Linked DNA regions of Homo sapiens: regions 1 and 3 are each linked to region 2. Evidence: promoter capture Hi-C in human tissues and cell types (Jung and others, 2019). All regions are on one chromosome and are shown on one strand. The core of a region is centred on a gene start or on the middle of the fragment in contact, and the rest is flanking DNA. Distances in the headings are between cores, read along the strand shown. Region 1 overlaps ABCD2 (ATP binding cassette subfamily D member 2). Region 2 holds the start of KIF21A (kinesin family member 21A). Region 3 overlaps KIF21A (kinesin family member 21A).

What was found. The method cuts DNA at HindIII sites, captures the fragments that hold promoters and counts their contacts. A contact is called where the count stands out against the background at its distance.
Region 1: a contact is called between a fragment that was not itself captured here and the fragment with the promoter of KIF21A in region 2, in 1 of the 25 tissues and cell types used here (pancreas).
Region 3: a contact is called between a fragment that was not itself captured here and the fragment with the promoter of KIF21A in region 2, in 1 of the 25 tissues and cell types used here (lymphoblastoid cells).

The regions. Positions count from the first base shown.
Region 1 is chr12:39,591,053-39,594,091 of GRCh38, reverse strand. The region is part of intron 6 of ABCD2 (ATP binding cassette subfamily D member 2); the gene reads left to right. Among named protein-coding and RNA genes, the nearest start is that of ABCD2, 27 kb to the left of the region's middle. The HindIII fragment of the contact is 6,479 bases long and covers 1-3,039 here.
Region 2 is chr12:39,441,094-39,444,434 of GRCh38, reverse strand. It overlaps KIF21A (kinesin family member 21A), which reads left to right and starts at 1,315. Exons shown (of 38, transcript NM_001173464.2): 1 at 1,315-1,508. The coding sequence starts at 1,465. RefSeq lists enhancers at 645-704, 986-1,486, 2,305-2,374 and a silencer at 785-1,684. The HindIII fragment of the contact is 12,215 bases long and covers 1-3,341 here.
Region 3 is chr12:39,310,758-39,313,734 of GRCh38, reverse strand. KIF21A (kinesin family member 21A) reads left to right here. Exons shown (of 38, transcript NM_001173464.2): 32 at 2,182-2,318. Among named protein-coding and RNA genes, the nearest start is that of KIF21A, 130 kb to the left of the region's middle. The HindIII fragment of the contact is 8,015 bases long and covers 1-2,977 here.

The sequences.
Region 1 (3,039 bases), core at 289-2,788, 150 kb before region 2:
ATATCAAGCTGTGGTTTGGAGGCAGAGGTCCTCATAATCCTCGATGTACATGGCAATTAAGTCAATTTTAACATACATTTTAGCATAGGTACTTGGCCATCATTCAGATATGTTAAGGTGAAGGAAGCTATATTCTCATATGAAAGTGAAATTTTAAAAAATTTATTGGTGTTCAATTCATTTTCAAATTAAATTTTATTCTCTACTCTTTCCTATTCTTCTAAAATTCATTTCTCCATAAAATTTTAAAGAATTTTTCAAAAATAGTCCCTTAATTTTAAATCAGAATTCTTGTTGAGATATAAAACAAGCAAACCTTAATTTTCAGGATGCATTATGGCTTAAAAAGATCATGACTTACCCTTTATGTCATCAAAAGAAGAGATTGTCGCTTGCAACAGTGAAGACGGTGTTTTATTTCAGAAGTTCTGCAGAAAGGGCTTGAAGGACGATAATACCAACATTGGCACAACTGCCCTGTGCACTAAGAAGTACTTGCACCAAATAAGCTTTATGGATATTTTAAAATATGAAGTTCTGGGCTGGGCCTGGTGGCTCATGACTGTAATCCCAGCACTTTAGGAGGCTGAGGTTGGATAATCACTTGAGGCCAGGAATTTAAGGTTAGCCCTGGCAACATAGGGGGACCCCGTCAATACAAATAATAAAAAAGTAGCTGGATATGGTGGTACTTGCCTGTAGTCCCAGCTACTTAAGAGGCTGAGGTGGGAGGGCTGCTTGAGTCTGGGAAGTTGAGGCTGCAGTGAGCCATGATTGCACCACTGCACTCTGGCCTGGGCAACAGAGTGAGATGCTATCTCAAAAGAATAAAAATAAAAATAAAACAAAAAAATAAAAGCTGTGAAGTTCCATTTTCTATTGTTTCTATATGAATGACTTCCAAATCTAAGATTTCTTCTTTGTAGGGATCAGGGAACTCTGTGTTATATATCAACATTGTTTAACCCACACATATAAAACCAGATGATGGCTATTAACTAGAAAGCATATGAGATCAGGTCAGAAGAACTGATTTGCCTCTTTTCTCTATGGAGGACAGAAAGGGTGCTGTTAAAGTATTCTCAGTGAGATCCTTGCTTTTTTTCTTTTTATCCAAGATCTCAGATTTTAAAAATGAGGATGTGGTCTGGAAAAGGATCTAAGCAAGAATCTGGGGTATGCTGTTTTAAATATCTTAATCTCAATTTTCCTATAGGTCTCTAGCTTTTGGACCTGTCAATTCTTAATGAATATCTAGCTGCCAAAAGGCAAACAGGGTGCACCTCTTGAGGACAAGGAGTGTGTTTATTTAAGAAAGAGGCAGACTAGCAGGCCACTGCCTGAGTGGAATATGGGTCTATAAAAGCCACTGGAATAAAGGAGGAATGTGATGTGGCTTAATCCAGAGCTCCTCACAGAACTCTATACCTATGTACTGTGCCAATGTGTATGTAGGTTACATATCTATTGTCCTGCTGCCCTCAAAGCAAAGAAATATGGCTTTGGGAGTAGGGGTTGTACTGGAACAGACTTTGCCCTTGTTGAGTCACTGTTGAACAAACTTTTATAGATTAAAAGCTAGAAAAGGCAACCACATGTCTCTGTACAGCACTGGTAGGATCCTAGTAAATATATTGTAATTGTGCAATAAATATCTGATAAGTGATTGACTGAATGAATGAACATCTCCACAGATTTGGTTTCTACTGCCAAGTCAATCTGGTACCTTACACTAATTATGAGCAATCTATTTATTTTGCTGCTTGCAGTAGGTATGTTGCAAAATTCTCTTTATGATGGGGATAAATATCTGTCATTTAACATGTCCTTTTTTAGAAAATTATTTTAACCACAAGGAAGGCTTAGTAGCATTGCTGTAGCAAATTGACTTCTATTCCTTGCTTTCTGACTGTTAGACTTACAGCCAAGTAATCTTTGTATAAATACCTTTGGGCAGTCAGTTGACAGAAATAGAAGTTGTACATTTTAGTTCCTCCTGTGTAGTAGTTGGTACAGTTCAGTTTTTTTAAATCTCTTTTAAAGAGATCTATAAATGTAAACACAATTTTCTATAGCTTTCTATGGCTTGGAAGAATGCTAAAGATACTTTTTAAAATCTTTAACTTTTCTAAGGGCTCATTTATAAAAGTAATAATGAAAAAACTCCCCTCTCACTCAAAAGTTTTTCTCATTTTATGAGTACTATTACATTAAACCATATGGAACTGCAATTTTTATAGGTCAAATATCAGCAATTTAAATGGTAATCTGATATAATGATAAATACTCTTAAAGTTGACTTTTACAGAAATTTGCATTTTTAACAGCTTAGCAATACTTTAATTCTTCCACTAATAATATATTTATTTATTTACTTATTGAGACAGTGTCTCACTCTATTGCCCAGGCTGGAGTTCAGTGACACAATCTTGGCTCACTGCAACCTCTGTCTCCAGGGTTCAAGAGATTCTTGTGCCTCAGCCTCCCAAGTAGCTGGGATTACAGGTGTGTGCCACCACACCTGGCTAATTTTTGCATTTTTAGTAGAGATGGGGTTTCACCATGTTGAGCAGGCTGGTCTCAAACTTCTGACCTCAGGTGATTCACCCAGCTTGGCCTCCCAAATTACGGGGATTACAGATGCGAGCCACTGCACCTGGCCTAATATTATTTTTATTACTTGGAAATAAACCTCATCCCTGCTCTTAAGAGGCTATTCTCATCTCTGTTTTGGAATCTAGAAATATCTTATCCAAAAGATATAATTTCAGTAATAGTAAATATCTATTTTCACTTGAATATTTCTTCTTATTATCACACATTTTTTAAGAATACTATAAATGACTCAAATCTAGTTCTTTCTATGCATGAAAAACCCTGATGCAATGATTGGTTCCAGCATGTATAGTTATGTGAATTATTGATAGTTAAATTTTATGCCTTTCAGATTGTTAACTTCTTTTGCTACGACAACACAGCAGTACTTAGTGGTACATTATTCTTAAACTTAACACATCTCATGCCTTAAATACAGTTAAC
Region 2 (3,341 bases), core at 66-2,565:
ATAATTATATACCCCATCGGCCTTCCCATGGGTTTAAATCATCAAACACTTCTTGTTTTTCCCATAGTGTTGCAGCCTTCTCTGAGCCACACTGCTGTATCACTGCTGAACAAGATGATTAGGTATGTGATTGTAGATTGCAGGCATTTGAGGTAGTGCCTTTATTTGGATAGTGCCATTTAATTTGTGATACTATTTCGTATGAAGCCACATGTTTGTTTATAGAGATGTATGGAGCAGTCCACAAAAGATACTCTGTGGCAAAGCTAATAAAGGCTGTTTCCACAGAGCTATCTGAAGGCATGTGGAAGCACAATAGTGACAAACAGAAACCACAATGGGTCAATGTTGAGAGAATCCTGGGATTGGGAGGTGCTTTTTAAAGGCCAGAAGGGAAAGAAAATCAGTTTGGAAGGATTTACTACACAGCAGGTCTTGGTGGATATATTCAGTTCTGGGAACACTTGGCAGTACCAGGGTGCAGTTCATTTACCAGTGTACAAATGATTGAACAGAAAAGCATTCAGGAGTCTCGAATAAATCATTTCCATATCCCACCCGAGCTGGTAAACGGGCGATGAACTGTAGAACAGCCCAGCTGTCCAGAGACAGTGGACAAACCTGGGAGTCCGTTTAGCATGAATGACTGACTCCGGGGAGGGAGGAGGGAGGGCGTTCAGCTGGGGGCTAGGGAAGGGGGTCAAAGTCCAAGCTGCAGAGAGGACAATAAGGCTATGCGTGGGACACAAAGCCGAACCGCAGCAGCAGCTGCCTGGCTCCCGGCGCGCCGCTGAATCAAGCTTCGATTTGAGAAGGGACCTGGCAGCAGCGCGTGCACTAGCTGCTTCCTTCTCCCAGAAGAGCCTGGAAGGGCGCACAGGCTGGTCGCCCTCGGGCGAGGGCAGCCGGCGGCAGGCATCCCTCCCCCTCGCCTCCCTGCCCAGCAGCGCCAGGCAGTGTCCCGACGAGGGCAGGGCGGGGCGCAGGCTGGGGGAGGGCGAGGTGGGGCTGAGCCGCGCGGCGGCGGCTGACGCAGTGCGGGGCGAGGAGCCCGGAGCGCCCTGGCGGGCGTGGAGTCCCCAGCCTGGCCGCTGGGAGGCCGCGTCCCCACCGGAGGGGGCAGGGCGCACTCACCCGGCCGCCCTGAGGCCGCTGGCGGCCTGTTGGCTTCTCCACAGGCGCGCTCGCCGTTCAAGCGCGCTTTGTCCCCGCCCCAGATCCTGGGGGGTGAGCGGTGGAGAAGGGGCGGGCGCCCGCGAGCCGTGAATCACCTCCTCCTCTTGCTGCCTCAGCGCCGCCGCCACCTTTCCATTCAGTCGCCCAACATGGCTGGAGCGCGGCGGAGGTGAGCCGGCCGCCCGCCCGCAGACGCCCCAGCCTACTGCGCCCGAGTCCCGCGGCCCCAGTGGCGCCTCAGCTCTGCGGTGCCGAGGCCCAACGGCTCGATCGCTGCCCGCCGCCAGCATGTTGGGCGCCCCGGACGAGAGCTCCGTGCGGGTGGCTGTCAGGTGAGGACAGTCTGCCGGCGGCGGGCGGCGGGCGGCGGGTTGAGGGCGCGGCAAGGACCTGGCTGTGGCGCGGAGCACCGGCTACCGGGGTGGAGCGACCTGAGGGGCGTCCCGGCCGGGTTCTGCGGCTGAGGAAACTGAGGCAGTGAGTCCCCGCTGGCCTGGCACGCGCGGCCGGGTGCTGGCAGGGCGACTGCGCCGCCCTCACGCCGTCTGTGTTTGCAGGTGGCTGGCGGCTGCGCGGCGCCGGGTCCCTGGGGGGCGTCTTGACTTCTCTGGGGGAAAAGCCCTCGTCACTCCCCTCCGTCCCCTCGCGGGATCAGTCACCTCAGGTCTGGCCGCCTTGGGCTATCGCCTGTCCGGGAGGAGCTGCCTGTGCGCGGGGCTGTGGTGTTCTTTTTTATTAGTTCTAGAATGTCTGTCATACGTGTCCATGCAGCTCCGGCCTTCCCAGGCAGGAGACAAAGCATCTGACTATCAGCGCCGGCGACCGCAGGGCCCGCCGCGCGCCCACTCGGGTTCTGATGTCTGTGCAAATGAGACATCTTTTTCAGCATCACGGGGATCTAGACATGCCCCCGCGTGTGGGTAGAGGAGACAGATCTAGCCTCTTGGGTGTTGGAATGGGAGTGGAATTTAAGGTAAAATCCACTGGGGAGAGGTCTACAGAAGGAGGAAAACTCTTTAGCCAGAGGAAGGGTGAAATGGGTGACTGTGTGAAACATACTGACATTAGGCAGGGTGGATACAATGTAATCGTAACGTTACCCAGGCCAGGGTGTGAGTCTGGAAATACTAGGTACATCCTAGTATTGAAATTATATTTCGGCCAATGACAGGCACGAGTATTCGATGTAATTTCGGCTGTTTTGATACTTATCAAGAAGGAAAGCTCTGATAGTTGCTCATGGAAAATTGCAACATCATCACACTGTGTGAAAAATTAATGAAGCATTCATCCTAGAGTAAGTGCGTGGCTTTCACAGCTCTGAGAGTCTACTGTTAATTCACTTCTCCTTATTTATGCTTTAAGGATTATAAAAATAATCTACACTCCAAGGAATTAGGAACTATTAACAATCTCCCAGTCTTGTAGTCTTTCCAGAAAATTATTCTAAAAATTCTCCCCTCTAAACATTTCTATAGTTACTATTTTAGTGACACATCTTGGGTCAGGCATAGTAATGGCTGTTTCGTATACTTTGTATCTTTAATTAACTTAAATAATAAAATGAGTTTTTAAGTGTTTTTTTTTTTTTTTTTTTTACCACCCAGGGAGGTGACAGTTTTATGACTGGTTAGAATCACCTGTTATAAGGCTTTTGAAGTTTTAATTAGGCCTTCTTCGTTATTCTAGGGCTACTTATCCAATTGTTAGATTAGTCTGTTTCTCCTATTCACTGCTACTACCTCTCTTTTGGCCCTTTAATACCAGTTAATGACTGCACCAGGGTGGAGAAAGGGGAAGGAAAAAGACAGAAAACCCAATAAGAGGCAATTTTGTTAGGAGATCTGATCAAGGAAAGTGAAGAAGGTGCATAAAATATTACTGAAAACAGACAATTTGTCTGTTTTTAGACGTTTGAGATTTTTATATGTGAATTCTCTAGACTATCACAAGGCAGTTTGTTGACCATTCTGTTAAATCCGATGCTTCTTTGCCTGTAGAGCCATGGATGACCCTAAAGTGATGCTGACTGATAAATAACTTGTATTTTGTTTTGGTGTGTATGTTAGGACTTTTTAGGTGAATGAATGTGGGTTTGATTTTTGGGGAAAGGCTTTATAAAAACTTCAACATAACTTAGTAAGCCATATTGTAAAGATTCAATT
Region 3 (2,977 bases), core at 6-2,505, 130 kb after region 2:
AGTCGGCATATAAAATAAATGAATTTTGTTTCAGTGATTTTTTTCAGGCAATATAATGTCCAGTTCTTTAATATATCCATTTAATAAGCATGCCACTTCTCCCTAGGGCTAGGTAAAGATTGACTAGATACCAAAGATCTTCCAGATCAGCAGTGACCTTGACTCGTTAGGTATGACTCTTCAACTACCTGTGGAAATACTTTACTCTAACAGTTCCATACTTATTCACATTGTCCACAAGGATATCATTTAAAAGTCTTATTGTATGGGCTTTATTAGAGTCAACATATATTGTGAATGTGACATTCCCTTAAATTGGTATCCATTAACCCTACAAAAAACTTTCCCCATGAAATTGATAAGCCCATGTTATCTTTTGTTGGTGAACATTTATTTTTAAGTGGATAATGATTTGCTTAATGTATTCCTCTTTGAGACTCAACGAGAAGTTGAGTTTCTGAATTCCACGTTTTTCCTGCATTTTGGAAGATCAGGTCTACATGTTTTGTCCCTTTTTTTGATCTTTGTGATTTCTTAGAGCACTGACAAGGATTTTGCTTACACAATGGCATATACTTTCAAAACCCTATGATATAATGATTTAAAAACAGAAATACTTGAATTTATTGAATAAATCTCCATTGTCAGCTCTAACTTATCTGGGGCTCACGTTTCTTAATCATTTCTGCCCTCTTGCATCTCGAAGATTATTCTCTTTCATTAAGAAGATGGAAACAAAACAGTTTTCCTTTATCCTTATATTTGTCCTAATATGCCATTTGTCTTACATAATGGACATAATTCAACATAATTTGAAGCATATAATGCTTTGAGTGAAGGTACATTTGACTGTTTGTCATGTCTTAATTCATTATCATCTTTAGCCTCCCCAACACCATTATTTTAATTCAGACCCTATCTTAAATTCCTTTGGGAGAGGGACAATGTTTTGATAATCTTTATATTTCCATAGTACATAGCCCAGTGCCATAAAGCAGAAACTACAAAAATATCAAATTTATGAGAAAGCTCCCTAAAGAGCTTCATTGTTTTTAATTTTTTTATTTTAAATTTTTGCAGGTACATAGTAGATATATATTTATGGAGTACATGAGATGTTTGGATACAGGCATGCAATGCACAATAATCATATCATGGAGAATGGGGTAGCCATCCCCTCAAGCAATTATCCTTTGTGTTGCAAACAATCCAATTATACTCTTTTAGTAGTTTTAAAATGTACAATTATTATCAACTATAGTCACCCTGTTGGGCTATCAAATAGTAGGTCTTACTTTATTCTTTCTATTATTTTTGTACCCATTAAACATCCCCACCTCTCCCAACCCCCACTGCCCTACCTAGCCTCTGGTAACCGTCCTTCTACTCTCTATGTCCATGAGTTCAGTTGTTTGATTTTTAGATCCCATAAATAAGTGAGAATATCCAATGTTTCTCTTTCTGTGCCTGGCTTATTTTACTTAACATAATGATCTCCAGTTCTATCTATGTTGTTGCAAATGATATGATCTCTTTCTTTTTTTATGGCTAAATAGTACTCCATTGTGTGTATGTACATTTTCTTTATCCATTCACTGTTATTTTAAATTCTCATTCTTTTAAAATTTTCTTTGAGATTGTCAGTTCTTTAAGTTTTTGATCTTTTTAACCCATTGTCCCTTTAGAATTTCTTTTCATTCAATTATTCCTATCTTCAATTTTTGTTTGAAATCTGCTTTCTTAGTATTTTAGGTGGCATATATATTACACTTTCTCCAGCATGTTCCTTTACACACCAGTTTGACATAGAATTATGTTTTCCTGTTATTTGTCATTTCTGCTCCTTCCTTATTTGTCAGAATTCAGTACACTCAAATAATTCCCATTGTGGCTTCGTTAAACCTTGGAGAGATGAAATTATTAATAAGAAAATCTAGATGTATTATAGTCTTTGCTCTTTGCAGAATGCAGCTGTTAGCAGATGCCTGATTAGTTGATATACTCCATCACTATTATTATTTCACACTTTGTCCTTTTGCTTAAAAGAGAGCAGTCTGGATTTTATTACTAATTACTTATAAAGACTTCTTAAAGTTAGGGGAAAAAAACAAAACTAGTCTCATGATATAGTCTCATGATACTGAAGTGAGTCTTGGTTTGTTTGTTTTTTCCCCACCTTAGGGGCATAATCAACCCATTTCCTGCTTCAAAAGGAATCAGAGCTTTTCCACTTCAGTGTATTCACATAGCTGAAGGGCATACAAAAGCTGTGCTCTGTGTGGATTCTACTGATGATCTCCTCTTCACTGGATCAAAAGGTGCTAGTAGTTATCTAATGCAGATATTTAATAGCTTTTTTTTTAAAAAAAATTACATTTTTAACATATTCTAGAAAACTGTCAAACTATTTAAGACCAGAAAGAATCGGATAATCTGGTTCAACCCCTGAATGTAAAATATATAAAATTATTGCATAGTTGAGCAGCAAGTAAAACCTCTGTTGATGTTTTGTGAATACAATGGTGACAGAATACATCTCTCTACAGTATTTGGGCATGTACTGCATGTAGAGTCCTGAATTTTGAAATGCAGGTTATATAAAAATCTATAAAAGGCTATTTAAATATACAATATGGGAAAGAGAATAAGATGCATAGCAACCACTATTTCTGCAACACTTACTACATATCAGGGGCTATGCTAGGCAGTATACTAATATATCTCACCTAATTCTCACAACAATCTCAATGAGATACATGTTGCATCCTCATTTTGTAAACAAAGAAACTCAGGATTCAAGTGAATAAATACTTTTCTCAGGTAAATTTAGCTAGTAAGTGGAAGAACAAGGATTAGAAACCTAGGTATACCCTTCTTCAATCCTGCACTCTTAACCCCTTTTGTACAATTGCAAGTAACTGGAAACCAGCTATAAATGCTTTGAAGAGTTATAGACTAAGAGTTTTGGGGTTCTGGA